Regions from separate parts of the Homo sapiens genome. Here region 2 is linked to region 1. The links are contacts of gene promoters, found by promoter capture Hi-C in blood cells and fetal thymus (Javierre and others, 2016). All regions are on one chromosome and are shown on one strand. The core of a region is centred on a gene start or on the middle of the fragment in contact, and the rest is flanking DNA. Distances in the headings are between cores, read along the strand shown. Region 1 holds the start of SLC6A3 (solute carrier family 6 member 3). Region 2 has its middle 57 kb from the start of MIR4277.

Region 1 (7,716 bases), core at 2,661-5,160:
CTACTGAACCTGCGTCTCTAAGGATGGAGCGAGGTGATCTGTGCCTCCTATGCATGTAAAGGTTTATGTAGGTGACTGTGATGCCAGCTAAAGTCGGAGAACAACACCAGATTGTGTGGCCTCCTGGGGCAGCAGTTTGCCCATCCAGACCAGCAGCAGAATCTTTCTTACTCTGGGCCCTACTCAAAACCAAACGCTTTATGAAGAACACAAAACAGGCCAGAGAAGCATCCCCGAGTGTCTTGCACCTCACCTTGCAAACCGGAAGAGCCTCACCAGGTATGATACTTCTTTCTTAGTGGTAGTCTTGCTTGCCAGAGACAGCGTGTTTTCTTTCATTTTGGATATATATTTTGACCAATCAGACCAATGGACCCACAGAAAGTTCACCAAGGTGGCAGGTTTTGAAAATGTGTTATTTTCTCTTTCAATTTTTAGCAAGCACGTGTCTTACCAAGGCATCTTGGCATTTTTCATTTTTTGCTCCCCAGGTTGATTCAGCCTGATGTCATCAGTGTGGCAGACCACTGTGACATGCTGTGCAGTGGCAAGACCATCAAGATGTCTGTGACTAAAACCAGCAGTGAGCCGGAAAATGATACAGCTCTGAGAGAAGACATTGGAAGTGTACTGCTGTCCCTGCCATGCGAGAGGAAACTATCTTCCTCCTGAGGTGGCCCCCGGGGAGGGCACAGGGGTGCAGCAGTGAGCAGGGCCTCCTGCCTGGAGCCAGCGCCTTCCATCATTCTCAGAACCTGGACAGACAAGGTCTGGGATCTGACCTCCCACACCCCTGGACAAAAGCCACTCCTGCCTACTGGTCCCCTCACCCTTGCCCTCCCCAAGCCCCCTACCCCCAGGGCCTTCCCAGCACCAGTGAGAGGTCAGGGTCTTTAAAGTCTGAGCTGGGCTCCCTGGGACTTCCTCTGAAAGCACACAGGACACCCTCAATATAGTAAATACGCAGGCAGGTAAATGACTGTCATCTCACTGCCACTGTCCTTGTCCCCTCTCAGATACAGCACTCATGGGGGGAGCATCCACGCTGTCTTCCAAATCAGGCGAGACACGGCGCAACATCCAGCACTGAGGGCCTCCCAGGAGGCAGCACCCAAGGAGGGGGGGACCCGTGGGGCAAGGTTGCTTTGGAGACAGCAGTCAGTGGCCAGGGGCTCCTTGTGGGCTCTGCAGCTGCGGTCCCAGCCAGTGGGGAGAGGTGCCGAGCATGGGCAGGAAGTGCAGAGGCAGGGGGGCTCCACCTGCCTGCACCCAACGCCCTGAGCCCACAGCAGCCATAGCAGCAACCACAATGATAATAAAGCCGACTTGGCATTTAGGGCAAAGTTCCAAGCATGCAAAGGTCGGCCGTTTGATCAGGTCTGATCAGCTCATAACCACACTGCTTCTACCTGCACAGTTCACGGAGCATTCCTGTTGTGGGAGGATGGAGACCCATGGGTCTGGCAGCTGCGCTTTCTCTGTGTCATCCATGAGCCCAACTCCCGCAGTTAGTTTGTTCTTAGAGCACCCAAAGCTCCTTTATCCTAATTCATGTGGTTGGAAGTCGGGGTTGAGGCAGGGGTGGAGGAATGCTCTTTGTCTTGGCAGAGTGCAGGTTACATGCGTGTGATCACTCAGTGGCCCCTCCTGAGTGTGGCAGGTGCATTCTCTGTGTGCTACTGGTCAGTAAGGATGTGGCTGCCTGGATCTGTGTGACCTCTAGTCCCTGCACCTTCCTGCCTGTACCCTGTTAGCTTTGGGTCACAATTCTGCGCTCCTGCAGCGCTTGCAATCCCTTCCCAAACGCTGTTTGCCTGTGTGTTGTTTTGTTTCGAGACAGGGTCTCATCCTGTGGCCCATGGCGCAATCTCAGCTCACTACAACCTCCACCTCCCAGCTTCAAGCTATTCTCCCACCTCTGCCTCCCCAGTAGCTGGGACTACAGGTGTGGGCCACCATGCCTGGCTAATTTTTTTTTTCAAAGTCAGGGTTTTGCCATGTGGCCCAGGCTGGTCTCAAACTCCTGGCCTCAAGAGATCCTCCTTCCTCGGCCTCCCAGAGTGCTGGGATTACAAGCGTGAGCCCTCACTCCTGGCCTGTGTATTTTTAATATACCTGAACATCCATTCTCTCTGTGTGTTTTATTTAACAGCCTCCCTTAGTCACCTGCAAAGTCTTTTCCTTGGGAGACTGTTTCCTCAACCCTGCTGCTCTGGGGCCAAGCCCTGGCTCACTCCTTTTTATTGAAACCTGTGCCATGGAGATAATAGGGGTAGAGAGATCCCTTCTGTGGCAGCCACTGACACACTACAGCTTCGAGGTGGCACATCCCCCTCTCCTGAAGTCCCCTCACCTCCCTGGCGATGAAGTCCCACCCCTGATGGGAGGTGGTGTCAGGAGGCCTTCAGGTGGTCAGGCCAGGAGGGCTCCACCCTGAGGAATGGGACCAGTGCCCTCATAAAACAGACCCCGGAGAGCTCTCCCCAGCCCCTAGCGTGGGGAGATACAGGGAGAGAACTGTCTGCAACCCCGAAGCGGCCCTCACCAGACACAGAGTCGGCCAGGCCTTGGCCTCGGGACACCGGAACCGTTAGAACTGAAGGCTTCTGTGTGAGCCCCCAGGCTGTGGAGTTTTTTGTCATGGCAGCCCCAGGGGGTCACTAGGCTCCCACTTGATTCCAACTCAGCGTGAAGTCACAGCCCTGAGTGCCTTCTGCCTGGGTGCCAGCCCCGGAGCCGGGGAGCGGGGGAGCGGGGGGCGGGGAGGGGAGTGGTGGTGTGCGGGGAGTGCGGGGCGGGCGCAGGGGGTGGGGCACCGCGCTGCGGGCGGGTACTGCGGAGTCAGGCACCAAGGGTCCCTGCCTCCCTCACTGCTGAGCGCGGGCTGCAGGCTGGAATGGCTGGAGAGCCCCAGGGCTCGCCTGGACGCCCAGGGCAGGGTGCTCACGGGAGCATCGAGGGTACACGGGGAGGAACGCCGGGGTTCGGGCGACCCTAGGGGCGACGCACAGAGCTGGGCGCGGCCACTCACCTCGGTGCCTTCTAAGGACCTGGACATCCTGGGCCTTGGCGGCCTGGGGGCTCCATTCCTCCGCGCGCTGAATGGAAGAAATCCCGCCCGGGCATCTCGGAAGGAAAGCCTCGGAGTCCATTCGGCCCTGGAGCCGGATACCAACCGCCAGGGCTTTCCAGGCCCGTCCCGGGAAATGGTTTTCTTAGGCGAGTGCGAGGCGGGCCCCTCGGTTCCGATGCAGGCGCACTAGATGCCGGCAAGGCGGGGACTAGGCCTAGGGGACCTCGGTCGCCTCGAGGTCGCGGAGACCCCAAGGCCACGGAAGGACCCGCGTCTCCGCAGCCCGCACGCCGGGAAGCGTGCAGAGTCCTCGGCGGGGTCCCGAGCCCGCTGGTCAGAGCGTGGAGCGGCGGGGTGGGAGGGACGTGGTCCCCAGAGCGCGGGGCCACCGTAGGGGCCCCTGATGGGGAGGGAGGGAAGGGTCGGCCCGACGGGGTCCCAGCAGTTCCCCGCGCGCAGCCGCTCGGCTCCCTCCCCGTCCAGCTGGGAGCCGCCAGCCCTGGGCGTCCGAAGATAGCGGGTGCCCGGGGCAGCCCCCAGGGGTGCGGGCGAGGGCGCAGGGCGGCCCAGACAGTTCCCGCGTGGAAGGCGCCCGTCTAGATCCGCGACGTCTCGGACCCCCAGGCCCCCGCACCCCGTGTCCGAGGCTCCGGGACGCGCAGGACAGTGGAGCCGTGGCCGCCGCTTGCTCCCAGCCATCTGCGTCCGGGAGGCGGGGGCGGGGGCGCGGCCCGGGGAGGTGAGGAGGAGGAGCCAGGACGCGAGGGCGACCCCGTCGGCGGGAGGGCGGGGCGGGGCGGACCCTGTCTACTGGATAAGAGCCCGAGGCCGAGGCTGAGACCGCCCAGCGCTGCGGAGCGGGAGGGGAGGCTTCGCGGAACGCTCTCGGCGCCAGGACTCGCGTGCAAAGCCCAGGCCCGGGCGGCCAGGTGAGGCCAGCGTCGCTCGCGGCATCGGGGCGCCCCGCTCCTTCCGCAGACCCCGAAGTGGGGCGCAGGGGCGGGGGCCGGGGACCGGGCACAGTCTGGGGTCCCCGCGTCCCGCAGACCGCGCCGTCTCCAAAGTCGCCAACAGTCGCGGGTGCCGAGCGCCCCCCGATAGCGCCACATGGGACCCTGAGGCCGTCCGAGGCGCGAGGAGGGTGCAGGGCTGCCCCTGGCCCCGCTCCAGGCTCAGAACCGGGTGGGCACCTGGTGCAGTCACCGGCTTAGGGGACGCGTGGGTGTCTATGGCTGTGACTCGGGGGTCCTGGTTTCTTCTCGTGGAACTTAACCCTACTAGGGGTGCGGCGCATCCCAGATCCGATCGGAGTGGGTTTTGTACACCGCCGCTCCATCTCGCGGGGGCTTTGTCTGTGTTGGGGGTGGTGGCGGGCGCGGGCTGCGCGCTGGTGCTCTGGGCAGGGCGGGGAGGCCGGGCGAGGACTCGCCAGGCAGCGCCGCTTCTTGTTCTGGGCGCGGTGAGGAAGGACGCTTTCTAACGGGCCACATTTTGCTGTGTAGACCCAAAACTCGCCTCTGAGGCCCCGCGTTCAGGAGCGGGGTCAGGTGGCCCCAGGGCGGCGGCGGCTTGCCGGAGACTCGCGAGCTCCGCACCCGACGCCCTCTCCCAACGCGGCCTCCTGCTCGCGCCGCGGAACCCCTTCGTCGGGTGTTTTACCCACCGGAGGGGTCGTGCCGGTTGAGGTTGTCACCGGGTGCGTGGCATAGCTCGTGATAGCTCATGGGTGAGGTTTTGTGCAAACTTGGATGCAGGGAAAGTTGCCTGTTAGAGCCTCCACCTGCGACCTGCTTCAGTCGTTGTGTGTGTGTGCGCACCTGTGTGAGTGTGAGTGTGTATGTGTGTAAGTGTATGTGCTCGCCTGTGTGTGTGTGAGTGTGTATGTGTGTTTGTGAGTCTGTGTGTGTCTGTGTGTCTGTGTGTGCGTGCGCTCGACTGAAACACGCTGCTGCTGGATCCAAATGACAGAAGTCGCCCTGGCTGGGGCGGTGTAGACGCTCCTGCTCTCCTGCTCAGCGTTGCAGGGGGGTTTATGTAGCCGTTTGGACAGGATTTCCCGGGTTACCCTGCTGGCCCAGGAGCTAGTTCCCGCGATGAAGCCCTGTCCATCCTCCGCCCAGCTCTCTCACGCGGGGTGGTGCCACCTGCCCTAGGTGGATGTGGCTTGTACAGACACTTTTTGAGGAAGCAGTTGTGATGGTTATGTCTAAACTCTCTTTACAGTGGCTGATTTTGCTTATATAAATTTTGCTCTTTATTACTGAGTATAAACAATACAAGCCCAGGCTTGGTGGCTCATGCCTGTCATCTCAGCACTTTGGGAGGCTGAGGCAGGAGGATCGCTTGAGACCAGGAGTTCAAAACCAGCCTTGGCAACAATAGTCAGACCCTGTCTCTACAAAAAAACAACAACAACAACAAAAAAACACACACAAAAATAACTTAGCCGGTGCTGTGGTGCACACCTGTAGTCTCAGCTGCTCAGGAGGCTGAGGTGCAAGGATCACTTGAACCTAGGAGGTTGAGGCAGTGAGTTGTAATCACAACTGTATTCCATCCTGGGTGACAGAGCGAGACCTCATGTTAAAAAAGAAAAAAAAAAGAAAAAAGAATACAGATGAACAGTCATGAAGACATTATTGAATGCTCTTAGAAGATTGTAAAATTGCTCTCTGGAAGTGTGGGGGAAGGTGGAAGTGATATCCATGCATTGTTAGTAGAAAGCCACGCTAGAGCTCACACAGCCTTGCACTTTGATAGGAGTGGGGAGGGGTGCAGGGGAAGGAGGAGCAAACCAGAGTGTCTGTCTTGAGGCCTCCATGGGCCAGTGCCCCAGCCCTGTGGTGAGGGCTGGCACTTCCCAGCTCCCGTGCCCCAGCTGTACCATCTCAGGCGCTGAGAACGCACCCATCCCTTCCCAGAGGAATGCCCGTGAATGCCTCGGGGCTCTGCCCTCCGCACCAGGTATGTCCCTAGCCCTGGCTGCTGAATTGTTGCGTTCCTGTTGTGTGTTTATTTTTCATATTGGCTGAAGACCAAGAGGGAAGAAGCACAGAATTCCTCAACTCCCAGTGTGCCCATGAGTAAGAGCAAATGCTCCGTGGGACTCATGTCTTCCGTGGTGGCCCCGGCTAAGGAGCCCAATGCCGTGGGCCCGAAGGAGGTGGAGCTCATCCTTGTCAAGGAGCAGAACGGAGTGCAGCTCACCAGCTCCACCCTCACCAACCCGCGGCAGAGCCCCGTGGAGGCCCAGGATCGGGAGACCTGGGGCAAGAAGATCGACTTTCTCCTGTCCGTCATTGGCTTTGCTGTGGACCTGGCCAACGTCTGGCGGTTCCCCTACCTGTGCTACAAAAATGGTGGCGGTAAGTCCCATCTCAGCCTCCCTGAGCATGCTGGCCGGGCGGGGGTCGTAGGGGCAGCCGGGGCCAAGGCACGTACGGAAACGAGATGAAGCTGTTCCCATGCGTGAAGACGGAGCTCCCTGTGAGAGCTCACGGCCGGTGCAGATCCTCCCAGAGGATGTCACAAAACCATTGAGCAGGACTCGGAGCTGCCTTGTCCCACGCCTGCATTTCAGAGTTTAGGAAAGGGAGGCCCGCGAAGAAGCTGGGGGGTGGGGGGCGGCAGACGGGGCAGCTTGGCTCTGCCTCCTGTTTCCAGAGGCTATCTTCGCTTTGGAAAGAAAATTCTCAAAGGTCCAAAGAACAGCCTGCGGCTGACTTTGGCAGCCTTTGCAAAGCATGTGGAGGCCCTGGAGCCTGGAGTGGCAGAGGAGGCCCCTGGAAAGTGACTGTGTCCCCTGCACCCTCCAGAACCCAGCCACAGAGCCAGAAAGCGAAGATCGAGGCAGGGCCACCGGGGACGTCCAAGAACATTGGTGATCCCTTCCCAGGAGCCTCTTTGGGCCTCCCAGCCTCCCTGCCTGGCCTCCCTCATTGGCCTCTATGCTAGGTCTGGGAAGGGAGGCCTGGGGAAGAATCTGGGGGGAAGCCTCACAGGATGCCTGCGAGGAGGCTGGCATTTTTATGCCCATCTTGAAGAGGGGAAGACAGAGGCCTCAGCAGGTACAGGAAGTTGCCCAAAGACAGAGCTGAGGGGCCCCATGCCTCCCCCTCCCCTTCCCCAGGAGAGAGAGTGGCAAAGCTCTCCCTCACTCCAGTCAGACCAGGGGAGCAGAGGGAATTTAGGAGGTTGAGACCAGGGTTCCCTGGGCTTTGTGCTGGGGGTGGGGGAGGTGCAGGTTTCAGAGGAACTAGGCCTTACCCTGGAGGGGCTCCCAGCACCTGGGGCAGCAAAGACCCTCAGCCACAGTCAATAGGGGCAGCCTCTGAGGGCCCCAGAAGCTGGGGACAGGACGGCAGGGCCCACTCAGCTCAGGGGCAGAGTTGGGGGGTCACAGATTCACAACTCAAGAGGCAAAGAGGATCAGGGCAAAGTGGGGGGACGCAGGCCAGGGAAGGGCACCCCGAACCACCACGGGGAAGGATAGTACCTAGAGCACCGCTGAGCATGGGCAGGGCCTCCCTGTGCTGCTCTTGGGTTTGACTTCATGGCTCGAGGTGCGCAATGACAAGGGGATCCAGGAGGGACGTGTCAGGCACTGACAGCAGTGGAGGGCGGGCTTCGGGACTCATCTACCC
Region 2 (7,716 bases), core at 2,875-5,374, 210 kb before region 1:
TGGCCCTGTGGGTAAAGGTGGCTTCCCCCTGAGCTTGTAGGGGTGTGGGACACTGCCTGATGCCACCTGCCATGATTTTACATGAAAAGCCGGGAAGAGGCACTGAGGAGCCACCTGACCCCATGGAATGCCATTTCCTGGGGTCGCTTGGCCAGAAGTCATTGACACAGCCCTGCCAGCCAGAAGCTGGGGCAGGGACGGGGTCCTGCCTTCTGGAACAGGCTCTGTGTGGAGGTGACCATGTCCCAGAGGTCTCTGCTCAGCCCAGGGGGCGGGTGGGGGTGGAGTTGCAGGGTGGATGGTGGGGGTGGGGCCAAGCTGGCCCGAGAGGTCTGTGAGGTGAGAAGAGCTGGGGTCTCTCCTCCTCTGCCACCCCTGCCCCACCTTGCTCTGAATCTCTCCCTCTGTCTGTCTCTGTCGGTCTCTTTCTCTCTCTACTCCCCACTCTAGTGTCTTTAGAGCTCTGGATAAGGTGTGTGCTGAGTCCGGTCTGGTTTGGGGTAGATGTTCTTTGATCTGTTACCACTCCTGGAGGGAAAGCCCCTGGTCCCCCATTCCTGTAGAGCCAGGCCCCGCCCACCAATTGCCCCCATCTGGCCCAGGGGGACCTTTCCTCTGCTCTCCAGGGACCACTGCAGGTGGTGTGGCCCCTGAGGGGAGCATAAGGGTGCAGTGCCTGACTCAGGGGACACAGAAGCCCCGCCCATACGGCCTTTCACACAGCACAGCACCCAGCCCTCGGCAGCCCAGAGCGGGAACCAACAGGGTAGGTGCCCAGGGGCCCCAAAGGTCAGAGTTCCTCCCACAGCTGCCAGGGAGCACAGGGACCGCAGCACGGGGTCTTCTGCTCAGCACCGGGACCCCGCTCGCTGCAGCTAAAGAAACAAATAAGTCCAAGGGCTCCATGGCCAGGGCCGGGCACCTGGAACAGGGTGGTCCTGGGGCGGCCACATCCACTCCTTCCAGGTCAGTTCCTGGTGACCCTCGGCCTGCAGTCGGCCTTGCTGAATTCTTTTAGGCCACCCGGATACCCCCTGCTACGCGTCCAGCTGTTGATCGCCCACTGACCTGTAGAAGACCTGGTCAGCCCCTCTGTCTTCCGTCACCCACGGAGGCGTCCGCAGATGCTCAGCGCAGCCCGCCCGGCCCTGCACAGACCCGAGGCGGCACCAGGGGGCGCTGCCGGCCCGAGGACGCGGGCGCGGGGCGGAGGCTGCGGGGCAGGAGCCGCTGTGCGCGTTCAGGCAGCTGCCCGGGACCCCTGGCACCGACCGCAGCCCCCAGAGGCCCCCGGGGGGTTTCCGCCTGAGCCTAAACCGAAGACAGGGCCTGTTTTCAGTCATCCCGACCCCACAGACTCAGCCCGTTAGTTCCCGCGCTGCCCGGCGCCCTAGTACCCAGAGCTGGTGGGGACTCCAGGCCACCAAAGGCAGGGGCGGGGCGGGCGGTTGAAGGAAGATTGGGACACGGAGAAGAGGGACAAGGCCTGGGGCCCGAGGGGTCAGGACGCTCTGCCAGCCTCACCACCCGCAACACCCAGGCACGGACGCACGCACACACTCCACACGTGTGAACACGCACGCATGGCTGCACACACGTGCACAGAGAGGCACAGCCTGCAGGAACACAGTTGCACGCACACAGGCACAGGCACGCTCCCTCCCTCATCCTCTCACACACACCCCAGGTGCAGACACCCCCACCCAGAGGACGCAGCTCAGATGCAGAAACAGGCTGGGTCACAAGAGCTACGGGAGGCGGCCCCTGCTGTCCGGTGTCTTCTCTGGGGAAAGCTTTTCCGGAGCCTGATGGAGGAAGACAGAGGAAAGAGACCTGTGTTCCCTGATGCACTGGCCAGCCGCTTCCCGGGGACGGGGAGGCAGCAGCCAGGTCCATCCGTCTGGGGAGTCAGGCGCGATGTGTGGCCCCCACAAGGTCCCCCCAAAAAAAAAGAACCTGAGAACGCTGGAGCACGGAGGGCCCAGAGGCGTGAGAAGCTCAGACCCCTGGACAGGGGACCCCACCCCACACGTAAGGCCACACGCCATCGGCTGACCTGGCACTCCGAGAGGACCCAGCTCCCAGTCTCCCCAGCTAGCTCTCAAAACACGAACGTCAAGTTTTCATCGGGAAACCGGCGCTGTCAGTGGCTTCCACCACCAAGCTAGCTCTGCCTGGCTGTCACCCAAATGCCAAGGGCCTGTTTTGGAAAGCATCAACCACAAGTTCCTTGTGAGGCCTCGGCGTGGCCTGCCAGGGTCCCTCCCCTCACAGAGAGACACCCGGCCCAAGCTGGCTCTTCCCCACCGCCCAAGCCTCAGCCACGCCCCATCTTCCTCGTGTCCCCCCAGCAAGTCACCAGGCTGGTGGGGGCCCAAGGAAGCAGGAGCAGAGTCTACTCTGATCGTGTTCATTCCTAAGTCCCTCCCTCCTGCCCCAACCTAAAACCCACTTGTGGGGAAGGAGGGCCAGTCCAGCCTCCAACAGGGAGGGCACTCCTGATATCCTCCCCTGGACCCTTTGCCCTCAGGGCCCCCCACACTGGGTGTGACATAGGGTGGCCCCTGGGAGCACTTGGCTGCTGTCCTGCACAGGGCACCTGGGAGACCCACAGCATCCTCCCTGCACCCGGCCCTCGCCCCACCTCACAGCATCCTGCGAGGCTGGCCAGATCCCATGGCCACACGGCCAGATCATGGATTTCCAAGCCCTGGCTCTCTCCTACATCCTGTTACACTCATGTGGTCCCTGGAGTGGGTTAGGGACAGCATGGCCAGCCTGGCCCTCTGGAGAAGCACGGAACTGTGGTGGGAGCAGGCAGAGGGACAGGCCGCCATGGATTGTTCCAGGACCCCCCATGGCGAGGGACCCCATTCTCCCTGAGAATTTATCTGTTCTTGTCCCACTCTCAGGCTCCTCCTAAGAATGGGCCCTGCCCTTCCCTTGCCCAGCACCTCCCCCACAGCCTCTGCTTGTGCACCCACCCTGCCCCACATTCGGGGGCCTGAGGAGCCCTCACCTTGAGACCCCTCCTCTCGAAAGGTCCCTGACCACCCACCCACTCCAGGCACCCCCTTCTTCCCCAGGGAACTTCCACCCTGTCTGGGCCATTGCTCCAGACCCTCCATCCCCTCATCAACCTTCGGGGCAGGAGATCAAAGAAAAACCAGGCTGCCTTGTTCTCAGCAGGAGCTCAGCAGGAGCCCAGGGCCTGGCAGAGGCTCTTCGGGTCACAGGATGAGCCAAGGAAGGGAAGAGTGACACTGTCCCAGGCCCCGAGGACCCAGGCCCCATGCCCCCATAGGCCCTGCCCCACAGGCCGGTCCTCCCCCAGCCCCACCCCTCCCCAGACCTCATCCCTCCCCAGCCTTACCCTCCCCAGCCCTGACATCTCCAGGCCACCCCTCCCCAGGCATCATCCCTCCCCAGCCTTGCCCTACCCCTGCCCTGCCCTCTGTGGCCCCCCCCTCCCCAGCCCCACCTTCCCCAGGCCTCACCCCTCCCCAGGCCTCATCCCTCCCCCAGCCCCACCCCTCCCCAGCCCTACCTTCTTCCAGCCCCACCTTCCCCAGGCCTCACCCCTCCCCATCCCCCACTCTTCCCAGGCCCTACCCTCCCCAGGCCTCACCCCTCCCCATCCCCCACTCTTCCCAGGCCCTACCCTCCCCAGGCCTCACCCCTCCCCAGGCCTCATCCCTCCCCAGCCCCGCCCTCCCCTGACCCCACTCTCCCCAGCCCCACCCTTTTCTGGCCCTGCCCTCCCCAGGACCCACCCCAGCCCTCACGGTGCGTCTGTCCAGCGAAGCTGTCTGGATCCCATGGCTGCACTGCCAGGTGGTGAGCTTCCAAGCCCTGGGCTCCCAGGACTCTGTCACTTTAGGGATCCCCTCCCACCCACCTCCAAACTCCTCATACCCCCCACCACCCTCACCCGAAGCCCCTGCTTCCCCACACCCGGGATGAACACCCAGTAATTAAGATGTTCAAGTATTTTCTTTCTTTCCATTTCTTTCTATTTACACACCTTCAAATTAAAATTGGAATAAAGTCGTCTGTATAACTTAATGCTCTCACTTAGCACGACCCTCTCATGAGTGTTTTCTCATGTTACTGGAAGTTCTTCAGCAGCACTGTCTACCTGTAGCGGCTGCCGAACACGACAGGATTTGCATTTGCCAGAATCGATTGAACTACTTCCATGAGGTTGGAAAGACGGACATTTAGGCCCTTTATTTCTTTATTTTATTTTTACCAACATTTTCTAAATGCTGCAAAATGAACACCTGGACCGTTTTGTTGTTTACTTGTTTACTCCTCCACATAGATCAGGGGTCTGCAAACGTGCTCTGCAGACAGCTAGAGAGTCAGTATTGTGCTGGGGGCGGGGACGGGGAAGATGGTCTCCACCGCACACTCTTCCTTATTCGCTAATCGTTTTCACAGTAACGGACCATTCCGAGCTCTTGGCCGTGCAGCAACAGGCCACAGAGCGGATTTTGACCACTTGCCAGTTTATCACCCTAAAGGCAGCATTGCTAGGTCAGCCACATTGGAAGGCTTCTGGTGCATATTACCAAACCCCTCTCCAGAACAAAATTATGCTGATACTTTTGCTACTAGTATCTGAAAACGCATATTCCTCTGAATATTTGCCAACATTGACTATTACTATTTTTAAGCAAATTGCTAAATTCATCGTTAAAACTCAAATTGCATCTTCCTGGGTTGTTGTGATTCTATTTCCACATCTAACTTCATTCGATTGCGCCTTCCTTCTTCCCGTAAGACCTCTAGACACTGAGGACATCAGATGTCAAAACCGTCACAGCGTGCTTCCGGTTTTTGTTGGATTTTGTTTGTTTTGTTATGGTGTTTTTTGAAGTGTCACAGGGTTTAATGTCTTTGTAATCAAATCTAAAATTTTTTGAAAAGTGTTTATTGATACATAATAATTGTACATATTTACAGGGCAGTTGTGATATTTTGATTGTGCACACAGCATGTAGTGATCAAATCAGGGTATGTAGTATATCCATCACTTGGAACATCTACTCTTTCTTTCTGTTGGGAAGATTCCAGTTCTTCTAGCTATTTTGAAATATACAGCGGACCAGGTGCAGTGGCTCACACCTGTAATCCCAGCGCTTTAGGAGGCCAAGGCAGGTGGATCACCTGAGGTCAGGAGTTCGAGACCAGCCTGGCCAACATGGCAAAACCCTGTCTCTACTGAAAACACAAAAATTAGCCAGGCATGGTGGCACACACCTGTAATCCCAGCTACTCGGGAGGCTGACAGGAGAATCGTTTGAACCCAGGAGGCGGAGGTTGCAGTGAGCCGAGATCATGCCTCCACTGCACTCCAGCCTGGAGTGAGACTCTGTCAAAAAGAAATAAAGAAAGTAAGAAAGAGAGAAAGAGAGAGAGAGAGAAAGAAAAAGAAAGAGAGAGAGAGAGAGAAAGAGAGAAAGAAAGAGAAAGAAGGAAAAGAAAGAGAGAAAGAGAGAGAGAGAAAGAAAGAAGGGAGGGAGGAAGGGAAGGAAGGAAGGAAGGAAGAAAGGAAGGAAGGAAACAGTAAATGATTGTTGCCTTTGGTCTGTGAACTGTTCTATGGAACATTGGAACTTACTCCTTCCCCTGACTGCATGTTTGTGCCCCGTAACCAGCCTCACTTTCTGTCTGCCTCTCACCCACACACCCTGCCCAGCCTCTGGGAACCACCAGCCAACTCTCTGCCTCTGTGAGAGCCACTCTTTCAGTGCCCACAAATGAGTGAGAACATGGTACATTTGTCTTTCTACCCCGGCTTACTTCCCTTAACATGACAGCCTTCAATTCCATCCATGTTGTTGCAGACGACATGATTTCATTCTTGTGTATGGCTGCAGAGTATTCCATCGCGAATAGATATCACGTGTTCTGTATCCATTCATCCATTGATAGGCACCTAGGTTGATTCCATATCTTTGCCATTGTGAACAGTGCTGCAGTAAACAGGGGGGCCCAGATTCCCTTTCACACAGGATTCCCTTTCCTTTGGATAAATACCCATCAGCGGGGATGGCTGGATCATAGGGTAGCTCTATTTTTAATTTTTTAAGAACTCAATCCTGTTGTCCATAGCGGCTGTACTCATTTACATTCCCACCTACAGTGTGTATGGTTCCCCTTTCTCCACATCCTCGCCAGCATTTGTTATGGTTTTTGTTTTTAATTAAAGCCATCTGAACTGGGGTAGATGATACCTCATTGTGGTTTTGATGTGCATTTCCCCAATGATTCATGATGTTGAGCATTTTTTCGCTTGCTTTTTGGGGCCAATATCCAGAATACACAAGGAAATCAAACAACAGAAAAAAATAGATAAATAAATAATCCCATAGAAAGTAGACAAAAGATCATTTCTCAACAGAAGACATATAAGTGGCCAAAAGGTTTATGGAAAATTCTAAGCTTTTAATCTTTGTGTTCCTTTCTTGTTTCAAGCAGTGTTTCTCTTTTTCTTTCCTTTTTTTTTGAGATGGAGTCTCACTCTGTTGCCCAGGCTGGAGTGCAGTGGTGTAATCCTGGCTCACTGCAACCTTTGCCTCCTGGGTTCAAGCGATACTCCTGCCTCAGCCTCCCAAGTAGCTGGGATTACAGGCATGCACCACAACGCCCAGCTAATTTTTGTATTTTTAGTAGAGACAGGGTTCCACCATGTTGACCAGCCTGGTCTTGAACTCCTGACCTCAGGTAGTCCTCCCACCTTGGCCTCCCAAAGTGCTGGGATTACAGGCATGAGCCACTGCACCCAGCCCAAGCAGTGTTTTTCAAAGCCACGTCTCAGGACCACCTCAAGAATGCAGACATGAGGGTGGGATCAGCAGTTCTGGGGGGGGTGGGGGAGCTGAGCGCCCCACCAAAGAAACGCTCACCTGTTTTGCAGAGCAAAGGATTCCACAGGGGGAAAAACAAAAAGCAAAAACAAGAACTTCCTGATCACCTTTTATTTTTGAGACAGTCTCAGTCTGTCACCCAGGCTGGAGTGCAGTGGTGCAATCCCAGTTCACTGCAACCTCTGCCTGCTGGGTTCAAGTGATTCTCATGCCTCAGCCTCCCAAGTAGCTGGGATTACAGGTGCAGGCCACCACGCCCAGCTAATTTTTTTTTTTTTTTTTTTTTTGTATTTTTGGTAGAGACAGGGTTCGCCATGTCGGCCAGGCTGGTCTCAAACTCCTGATCTCAAGTGATCTGCTCGCCTCGGATTCCCACAGTGCTGAGATTACAGGCATGAGCCACCACGCCCGGTGGCTGATCACCCAAGTTCTATCTGCTCCTCCTGGAGCCTGCCAGAGCCTTCCCACCTGGAAGCATCCGAGGGACTGAGGCTGGGATTTGGGGGAAAGGAGGCTGTCTGAGGAGGCCACAGCTGGTGAGCTGCCGGGATAGACCCACAGGGCCTGGGGTAACAGGCAGGGGTTTGGACACTGTCTTTCGAGTGACAGGGAGATGCTGGTGGGCACCAAGCAGGGTGGTGGTGCCATTACCTTGGAAAGTGGAAGGCTGCTTCTGCCTCAGAGAGCCATGGGCTGGAGAGAGGCGCCCGTGGGCTAGAAACCTCACACGATTAAAACGCCTATGACAGAAGGTTGGAGGGTGGCTTTTGCTTGTAAACATGATTTTTATTATCATTATTATTACTATACTTTAAGTTCTAGGGTACATGTGCACAACGTG

What was found. Contacts are between HindIII fragments. The CHiCAGO score rates a contact against its expected background, and 5 or more counts as called.
Region 2: a fragment that was not itself captured here is called in contact with the fragment with the promoter of SLC6A3 in region 1 in 5 of 17 cell types (neutrophils, naive B cells, total B cells and 2 more); the score reaches 7.3 in neutrophils.

What each region holds. Positions count from the first base shown.
Region 1 is chr5:1,441,634-1,449,349 of GRCh38, reverse strand. SLC6A3 (solute carrier family 6 member 3) reads left to right here and starts at 3,910. Exons shown (of 15, transcript NM_001044.5): 1 at 3,910-4,002; 2 at 6,108-6,438. The coding sequence starts at 6,153. RefSeq lists an enhancer at 2,773-3,272. The HindIII fragment of the contact is 13,596 bases long and covers 1-7,716 here.
Region 2 is chr5:1,647,538-1,655,253 of GRCh38, reverse strand. No RefSeq gene overlaps it. Among named protein-coding and RNA genes, the nearest start is that of MIR4277, 57 kb to the left of the region's middle. The HindIII fragment of the contact is 4,657 bases long and covers 1,796-6,452 here.